Linked DNA regions of Homo sapiens: region 1 is linked to region 2. The links are contacts of gene promoters, found by promoter capture Hi-C in human tissues and cell types (Jung and others, 2019). All regions are on one chromosome and are shown on one strand. Each heading gives the region's core, a stretch centred on a gene start or on the middle of the fragment in contact. The rest is flanking DNA. Distances are from core to core; before and after follow the strand shown.

Region 1 (5,125 bases), core at 1,955-4,454, 110 kb before region 2:
ATCATTAAGGTTATCTAATAAAGTGTGTACTCTCAAGAGCTGAACAGCCTAGCAGCAAACAGATAATGAGAAGGGGAAACAATGCAGGAAGCTAAAGAAATCTTCACATAACAAAAGGATCCCAGGGTCTTTTTAAGAAACACTGTCTGAAGTGTTTGTTTACAGATCATTAAATACTTAACAGAGGAAGAAACTAAAAACCACTGACTTTCTCTAAGCCAATACTGATTAAGTACCAAAGAGATGTTAACATAAAGCAAATAAGAAATTATAATAATTATTAAAGGACTGAGTTTTTTTCATTTTATCTTACTGGACAGAAAGATAAAATAGCCCAGGTCCAGTGCCTGTCACTCTGCCCTCATGCACACGGTTGCTTTTCTCTCTCCTCCAGGCAGCAGCCATGGTGGTCCTGCAATCAGCCTAAAATGCATGTGACCAGGCTCACACTGATTATTGTCTATATTAAGCACCTGCTGCATACAAAGTTCTGTGCAATGCAGGGTTAAGCAGCAGAAACCTTTGTTAGAGGGCTGCAGAAGACAGTGGTCATTAAAGATATGAAGGGATTGGCATTAGAGGTCCCCTGGGAGCAGTGGAAAGCCTCTGGTGCAGGGGTTGGTGAGCCTGGGAAAGATTTCTGGACAGTGGGACTCAGATAAGACCAGGTTTGACACTCTGCCACTATAAAGATCCAGACAGAGGGTTTTTCTCTATACAGTGAGTGCACCAGTCCTAAAGGAAACTACTCCAGGGAAGTCACAGGGGGTGAGTGGGCAGTTCTCATCCCATAGCAAGCAGTAGTTTCTGGGCAGAGGCATAACATGATAGGAGCAGTATTTTAAAAAAGATCAACCTCCCTGAATGGGATGCTCTTCAAGGGCCAACAAAATACTCTTGGCAAACTGACCCAAAGAGAAATCAGGGTGATTTTAGCTTTCAACAGCAGTCAGAAACCCAGCCCAAATTATCCGTAAGTTTAAATTTAACTATCAGCCGCCATTGGCAGGACTCTGAAAGGTCCTGGCTGGAGTTGGTTCCTCAGTTTAGGAGTCCAAAACCACATGTATAGCTTGAGTTCAGCCTCATTACCAAGGAAGGGTCTCCACAAGAGTCTGAAATCCCTTTTCCATTTGTCCCGTGTGCATTTTGCCAAGAGAACTTCTAAAGGGACAGGGAGGGAGGAAAAGCTGATTGACCAGCCCCGAAGCACAAGGACCACTTGTCTGCCTCAGGGTTCATCCCCCAAATACCTTTTTCCACCTGAGAAGTAGGAGTGATATTCCTGACTTCATATGATTGTTATGATATATTGTTTTATTAATTTATAAACTTATTCATTCATCACATAGGCTTTTATTTATTGAGCACCTCTTATGTGCCAGGTTCATGCTAGACACCAAGGATGCCTGTGTTTGTGACAGTTCCTGTCTTCCAGAAAGTGATCAACAAATATTGATTATTATGGCTAACAAAAATAATAATCTAGTTCTTACTCACAAGTAGAGAGTGACCTGTCCCCGGAAGAGATTGAGCAGAAATTTGAGAATCATTCTTTAGGGAAGTCATGCATGAGATTCTATTAAATAGCATGTTCAAACAGACATATTTCAATATTTTTCTCTTTTGTCTTATCTGGCTCTTTCTTGAAATTCAGAACTCCTGGTACCTGTGAAGTGTTAGCCTCTTCTGTTTTTCTTAACTTTTCTGACCATCCCTCCACAGACCTTCTTTCACCTACTCTTTAAGTATCAGCAGTCTCCAATGTTCCATAATAGGCACACTTCTCATTCTCCATTCTCTCCTTGTATGACTCCAAAATCTCTATCTTTAGTCTGGGCCTTTTTTTTTTTTTTTTTTTTTTTGACCCATGAACTTGTATATCTAATTGCTCTACTTTGACGCCCCAAGGGAACTCACATTCGACACATCTTACACAAAGCTTGCCATCTTTCTTTCCAGACCTGCTGCAAGTGTTTTTCCTAATCTCAACTGGTGGCGCCAGTAGCCAACCAGACATTTAAACAGAAGCTTGGGAAACATCCATAACTCTTCCCTCTCTGCCATTTCCCACATCCAAATAATTGCCATTCTTCCCATTTTACTTTGAAAACGTTATCTTGTCTGCGTCCAAATCAGTCTCTCTCGCCCCATGATCATTACTCTACCTGAGGCCCTCTTCAGCTCCTGATTAGGCTTTTATAAGAGAAAGCTTGTAAAATGAACATGTTGCTTGTTCATTTTTTTGCTTGCCCCAATCTACCTGCCCATAGGTGAGAGCAAGTTTCCTAAAGTGCAGACACCTTTTGTTGCTCTCCAATTGAGAGTGTCAGATGGCTCCATGTTGCCCTTGAGATAAATTTAAATTCCTTACTGTGTCATTTAAGACCTTGCGTGATCTGAGCCCAGGATTTGCTTTTCTTTTCTTTTTCTTTTTTCTTTCTTTTTCTTTTTCTTTTCTTTCTTTCTTTTTTTTTTTTTTTTTTTGACAGATTCTCACTTTGTTGCCAGGCCAGAGTGCAGTGGCACTGTCTGGGCTCACTGCAACCTCCACCTCCTGGGTTCAAGTGATTCTCCTGCCTCAGCCTCCCAAGTAGCTGGGACTACAGGCACATACCACCACACCCAGCTAATTTTTGTATTTTTGTAGACATGGGGTCTCACCATGTTGGCTAGGATGGTCTCGATCTCTTGACCTTGTGTCCTGCCCACCTCGGCCAGGATTTGCATTTTATACTCCAATACCATCTTGTGCTTTATACCTCCTACTATATTGCTGGCCTCATCTCATTTGCTCACAGTGTCCCCCTGCTGGAATGTGCTCCTCACCACCCGTTCCTCCTCTGAGAGATACAGCCCAGGTGTTGCCTCCTAAGGGAAACCTTCTTAAATCTGGGTTAGATTGGATTGGGGGTCCCTCCTCTGTGCTCCCACAGTATCTTGTACCTCATGAGGGTCAGAATCCTGTGCCGTCATCATTTACATATCTCCCCTCTCACTAGGACCTGAGTTCTTGGAGCACTGAGACCTGCTTTAATTCATCTGATTTCCCAAGAGTTAGTCCAGGGACTGACAAATAATTTGCAGTTCAGTAAATATAGAATAAATGAGTAAAAGAAGGATGTATTTCTTAAGAGACAGTTTTATTTTTCAGGCAAGAAAGTGTAGTTGAGCTTTGCTGGTCTTTAGAGTCAGACAATCCTGTTTGAATAGGAGACTTTCCCCCTTAGCTGTCATCTCGGGCAGGTTATCTTGGGTCAGGTGGCTTGGGGTGGTGGTTTCATGCTCAGACCCCTGAACTGGGCTGCTTGTATCCAAATCCTAGTTCCCCCACAAAAGGGGTGGGGGCTTCTTTAAAATGTTAATGTTACTATATCGATACACCAAGAGGTAGAAAGTATGCTATCTTAGCCAGCAGTACTTTTTTGAGGCTTCTTTCACTAAGTAGAGACGGGCTCAAATGCTGCCTTTCCTTCTCTATCTCTATACTGACAGAGGTCATTACTCTTTGGTAAGGTCCAAAGGCTTTAGAATTTTAGAAGAATGGGTGGGTGGAACCAGTGATTTTGGTGGTATTTGGATCACCCCATAAGACTCTCGGATGGCCCCAAATTGAGCTGCTTTTTAATACCAAATCTCAGTCTGCGGCTTGCTTCCATTTGGGGAGAGAGCCTAATTAACTCGTAGCTGGAAAGAACTGCAGGTCTGCCACCCCCCAGGCAGAGAATTCAAAAGGAAGTGGATAGCTGTGTAAATAACACTGCTTTAAGGGGCATTTAAGCCAATGCTCTTTGTTAAGGAAATTGATGGCTTTGTAAGTACTGCGTCTGAAGGGAGTACTTGAGCTGAAGGTCCCCATCTCGCCTCGTAAATTTCCTAATGGACTGTGGGCCTGCAGGCTGGGCCCAGCGTGTTCAATCACTTGCCAACAAAAACTCGGATTTCACTCTAAAAAAATTAAAAACGTTTAACCAAAACATAAGTTATTGAGCCTGTGCAGTTTAACTGTGGCACAAGGTAGCAGAGACAGATTACTTCCTTTAAGGAAAGGGAAACTCCTCATCTTTTACTTTAAAAAATTTGTTTTTTAAATGCTGGATGTGGTGCTACGTGCTTTCTCAACAGCTTCTCATTTTTTTGTCCTCATAACAGTTGGGAAGGTAGTCATTATTTTGCCAATTTGCCAAAGAGGAAACGGACTCAGGGCTAAAGTGTGCTGGTCATTGACACCAGCTAATTAGTGAAGAGCCAGGTTGTGATCACAGCTCCATCAGGCCCCTGAGCCCCCAAGTAGTGCCAAATCATAGGGCATCCGAGAGAGAATCAGATCAGCCCATCTCATCAGATTCTCCTGAATATCCACATCCATTCAAAATAGATTAACTGGACAGCATGGGAATGACTTACCCTCTTGAAACCTCAATTTCATTGTCTGTAAAATGGGGATAATAATAGGACCAAACACGGGGCTCTTCTAGATTTGAATGCCTTATGTACTTGAAACATTTAGCACAATGCCCAGCATGGAGAAAGTCATCCAGTTATTCATTTCACAAATACGCTAAGTACAATTTTAACTGGGGAAGCGGATGATGGTATAGGAAGACCTAGTGAGGGTCCATTAGCCCTTCTGGGGGTGGGTTTCCAGGCAGGTTTTTGAGAGGTTAAACTGTGAATAAAGGACAAATGGGGACTAGTCACAGAAAAGGCAGCTCTGGGGATTTGAAGAAAGCTTCTGCAAACGTGGGGAGGTGAGAGGGAACATGGTCCACTCAGGGCAACGACAATTTGTGTCTGGAGCTTAGACTAGAGTGCGTTCGAGAAGAGAGAAGCCTGCAGAGGCAGGCAAGGACCAGAGTACACCTTGTCAATCATCATCAAGCTCCTGTTGGGAAAAGTTGAATGAATAACTCAGTATCTTCTAGGGCAACCACTTTCAATTTTAGACCAACTGTACTTTGTTAGAAGAGTTTTCCATTGTGTCCTCCCTGAGCCTTCTTTTCTTCAGGTTAAGCATCTTCATACCTACATGATTATTGCTCAGTGGTTGGTGCCTATCCAGGGTCCTATTCTTTGACCATATCCTACCACATCAGTGGCCCAGAATTGGCCTCTTCAGCCATGA
Region 2 (4,775 bases), core at 2,112-4,611:
GTAAAGATTATCAGGTATGCAAAGCGCCCCAATTCTTCTGCTGCCATGGGGGATTTTACCCCAACTCCAGGGTTCGAGGCCAATCTGAGAATGGCTTAGGATTGCAATGTCAAGGTATTATATCAGCCCCTTGCTTGAGGCTTGAGGTCATAATATCCCTCTAGGACTTACCTGTTCCCCCAGATCTTGCCTTGGGACCACATTTGCTGCTACTTTTCCTGCTGCTCTATCCTATACATTGAATAATCCAAGATGGTAGAACTAGGTTAGGAAAAATTCCACACAACCAAACAGTCTGCCTTAAAAGTGACCCACATTTTTCCATAGCTCCTCACTTTTTAGCCCTTCTGCAAGAGAAAAACCCTCATGGGTCCACATGGTGAGAAGTTAAGTTTCCTGTAAGTGGGCCTCTCACCCTGGAAAGGAGTTGAGGGACATCAGATGCTGGAACCCTCACTGAAAGTCCAGAATGTCTAAGCCAGTGTTAGATTTTGTAAACAAGTGGAACAGTGTTAAATTTCTATGATGTTGGAGCCATCCAGAGACTACTGGAATTGTCGAGACTTTTGGATTATTATCCTTATCCTTATCCTAATCTTCCTAGCCCTTCAGGCTAGAGTAGGCTTTGATCCTGAGAACCTTGCTGTTGCTCTGAGGAGATATAATTCTGGGAGAAAGAATCTTTTATAAGAACAGTACAGATTGTTCTCAAGAGGGCCATCAGAAGGAAGCCAAAGAGTTCACAGCCTCAGCACCAACAACTCAACATGGTCATCATGTTTTCTATATGGTTTTTCCAGCTAGCAGTACTCCCTTCCATACCTGTGACTGGGCAGTGCTTTTCTCTCTCCCATGTCTAGCCTCCAAAAGTTAAGTGAAAATTAGTCAACTGCACGTGGAAGCCCCCACCACTTTGGGGATCTCTTTATTTCTTTTCAGCCAGGGACCTGTCCACTCCCTTTGAATTAATATGGGAAGAAATTAATACAGGATGAACTGGAGAGAAGGGTTGAGTGTGGCATACTTTCTGAAACCTGGAGCTGGGAATTGCGGAGAAGGGAAGGTCTAGACTAGTTACATCACATAGGGATTACTGTAAATCAAGTCATCTCAAGTCTAGTGAAGACAGCCAACAGAAACAAAACCTAGCATAGGGATAGAAAATACCATGCACGTGTGCAGCCCCACCTAATTCCTGCATCCAAGGCAGGTGTTGTTAATCTATCATAGCACTTAAAAAAAAAAAAAAAAAGAGACCAAAAATAACTTTAGGAACCACCATATTATATCACTCCCAATAGCACTGACCTGGTGATCAAAAACACTTGAGAAGACATCTATTGGCCATCTCTGGCCAATTACACTAAGAAACATATCAAGGTGCTTTTGGCACAGGTGCCCACAAATACGGATGCAGTGCTGAGATAGTTTATGAGACTTGTACCATTTCACAAACTCTGAAATTGGGTTCCATATTGGCAAGGCTGCCACAGTTGTTAAGAATAATCCTCTATGTTTCTTCCTCACAAAACCATATCTCATTTATATCCAGACCATTACTTCACTATAATTACAAGGACAAATTATTAGCAAGAAATAAGAATAGTATTAGAAGAATTGATCCTATTTTGAACCCCTCTCCAGTATCTTCACACTCTTGTCAACTCTCCAGGCCTCTCTCTTGCCCTGAGTTATCAGCCTGTGTGGTGTTAACTACCTTAGAAGGTACAAGCTAAGAAATGTAACAGTATCAACCCTCCCAGTTGCTTAATTATACCCATAGGTAATACAAAAAGCTCTGAAGACCCAAAGATGACATTACTAATGATGTGATTTCAGGAGCCACAGAAGAACCTTACCAGCTTCCCTCAAATCAGTCCTTATCCTCTTTCTATCTTCACTCCCATCATCATCTATTTTCACACTATCCAGCTAAGCAAAGATTCCTGGAGGCTGACTTGTATCTTCAGACTCACAGAGTGAATTCAGCTCTTCTGAATCAAGACCCACCCAGTCTCTTTCATTCAGACCTGTTGCTAACAAATTTATATTTGCCAAGGATATTAGGCAAAAGAGGCTACTTGATTGGTGGCCAACCTCGTGCCCACATGGAAGGTATCTTTAATAGGGTCTTTTCAAACCTTAGTGGAGGAGGGTCAGCTCAATTTGGGCAATGCATTTGTTCCCAGTTTCATTTTCTTCCTGGGAATTAACTCGTCATTTCATTCCTTCAGTCATCTTCTGTGTAGGTGACCGGAGCACTGAGAGGCAGCTCTGATGCACTATTGTGTGTCAGCAGCTCAAAGGCCCTAAAACACTGAAGGTTCTGCATCTGAAGTATTAGATTGTTAGCAGCAAAATATGAAAGATGAGGTGGACAGTCCTCTAAGCCCTATTTAGGGAAGCTTTTCCAAGCCACAATCTTAACTACCTACCCAAAGGATTTGCATTACCCCCAGATTCTGTGCCAACAACCTTTTAAGGAAATACAGTCCTTGGGAAATGAGTTTTGATGGTGAATTGGGGTGTTAAGGAAGGGAAAGATTGTCATAGATGGTAGGGCTTTGAAAATGCAGGGTATCAGCTGCCACTCCTGGCTTCAACACATTGAGTCACTGCCTAGACGGTTCTCTTGGTCTTATTCCCATCCTGGCCAATGCTTAAATACTATTTGTTGAAAATAATTCTTTGAGACAGATTTCAGCTACCTCCCTTCCAGGTTCGATTTAACTTGGTTGTAATTGTCAATTTGTTGTTATAGGTCTTACCTGTGTGAAAGAAAGAAAAAGAAAGAAAGAAAGAAAGAGAAAGGAAATTATAAGGTCAAGTTAACAGTTTTGAGGTTTTGTGTTTTTTTCTGGAACTACTTCAAGTGAGAAAATAAAAAAAAATGGTGACAAAGCTGTACAGATAGAGATAATAGAAGACAAAGAGATTAAAAGGAAATAAAAATGCATGATTAAAAACTAAGAATAAAAAACCTATTTTTATGTTTCCTAAAGGAAATTGTTTATTCTACAGCCTCAGTAGGTAGACACAAACATAAAGATTTCCCTAGAAGACATAGAGTGGGATTTGATAACACTGTCTGTTATTTTCTGTACATTGTGGTAGGTCCAGGAAATATGACATTTTCCCCCTTGATGTGTTATTGTTGTTGTTGGGTGGGGTGGGCATTTTGTTTATTTGTTTGGTGGCAATCAGTGGTAGTAGGGAGTGGGAGGGCTTATATTGGTTTTTCCAGCTATTAAGGGGACATATTGTGTCGTTGTGCTTTTCACGTTATAAAATGTTTATATTTACCAGTACAGCACTGGGCTTTATAAAGACTGCACTCAGAACCACACTGCACAGTCCAGTTTTTTAAAAAGCTGCTACATGACAGACAGGTAATCCCACTGAGTGAGTTTTGAGAAACAAATCAAACGAAGTAAACAAGAAACATAAAAACCAAATAGCAAATGAATAAAAGCCTGTTCTTGTAACTTATTCAACTTTTGCCAAATTCCTACCAATCACTTGCTTTTTAAAAGAAATGTATAATAGCCAAAAGAGAAATTATGTCCCTGTTGTACAGAAGTTAGAATTTTTGACTCCAGGCAGCAGTTTGCTCAGTGATCTTGAACAAGTTATCCAATTGCCTCTACATTTGCATCAGTTTCTCTAGCTGCAAAATGGGGATAATACTATATACCTACCTCACAGTGGGAGGGCAGGAGATTTTGAGGCCCTGAGGTTTTAGGTGGGCTGTGAGGGCCAACGCTTGACACAAAGTCCATGGGTTATTATTCAAGAATGCACAGGCCCATCGGCCTTTTAGAAAGACAAGACAGGGAGTGCTTGTTTGATATTTCAAGGAATAAAGCCGGAGCTCCTGAATTGTAGTCCACCTTAAAAGAGAGACCTGTATTGGAGAATATTTTATTTTTTTGGCAAATTTGATCTTACCCTTTACCAGTTCTATAATTTGGTTAAAAGCTGATTATGTCCTACAATGTCAAAGTCAGCTAACTGTCGTCTACTTAAGACTTCTGGTCATTTCCAACTTATAGAGGAAGGGAGTCTCTAAAATCTCTTCTTCAGAAGGCACCTCACTTCTCAGACTTAAAATTCCACATCAAGTGTTCCATTAAAAGAAGATAAGGCATTCTGAGTGCAAACAAATGGGGGCTTCTTAAACTACACACCAGCAGTCAGTGAGGAAAACTTTGAACAATTATTGAGTTGCTTTCTTGGGTCTCTATAATCAATAACCTGTCTGCAGATATCTATCTATATAAAGATATTATATATAAATATAAATTTACATATATATGCACATGTATATATAGTTGTACATATATGTGTGTATATATATACTTAAATGTAATATTTACAAAATAAAACTGTGATCTCGTCTAGAGAAAATGTATTCATATTACAAACTGCTCTTCCATATTTATGTACCATATTATACCTTTTTATTATTGTTATAATTATTATGGGTATTTCTAATTAATATGATGTTGAAACCTGTTTGGCACCTTCTGGAAGCTACCAAAAAAATGACACTCCATTGAAGTGCTTAAAAGCTGTTCTCATAAGAATTCTTCTGGCCTATTGTAAAAAAGAAAAAAAAAAAGAAAAAGAAGAAAGACACAAAGAAAATAATCTAAACACCAAAAACTAAACACAATTCCAATCCTTTTTCTGTACCTCACGCGCATAAATTTGCTGCTCCTATTTTTTTTTCTGTTTATGTGTTTTTATGGATCTAAGTTAAATCTTTTGGCAAT

The links. The method cuts DNA at HindIII sites, captures the fragments that hold promoters and counts their contacts. A contact is called where the count stands out against the background at its distance.
Region 1: a contact is called between a fragment that was not itself captured here and the fragment with the promoter of PAPPA-AS1 in region 2, in 5 of the 25 tissues and cell types used here (H1 embryonic stem cells, IMR-90 fibroblasts, mesenchymal stem cells and 2 more).

What each region holds. Positions count from the first base shown.
Region 1 is chr9:116,282,704-116,287,828 of GRCh38, forward strand. The region is part of intron 9 of PAPPA (pappalysin 1); the gene reads left to right. It overlaps PAPPA-AS2 (PAPPA antisense RNA 2), which reads right to left. Exons shown (of 6, transcript NR_170222.1): 6 at 3,125-4,885. Among named protein-coding and RNA genes, the nearest start is that of PAPPA-AS2, 78 kb to the right of the region's middle. RefSeq lists enhancers at 1-413, 3,270-3,846, 3,847-4,421. The HindIII fragment of the contact is 4,653 bases long and covers 879-5,125 here.
Region 2 is chr9:116,397,245-116,402,019 of GRCh38, forward strand. It overlaps PAPPA-AS1 (PAPPA antisense RNA 1), which reads right to left and starts at 3,362. Exons shown (of 1, transcript NR_103711.1): 1 at 913-3,362. It overlaps PAPPA (pappalysin 1), which reads left to right. Exons shown (of 22, transcript NM_002581.5): 22 at 1-4,775. The HindIII fragment of the contact is 20,173 bases long and covers 1-4,775 here.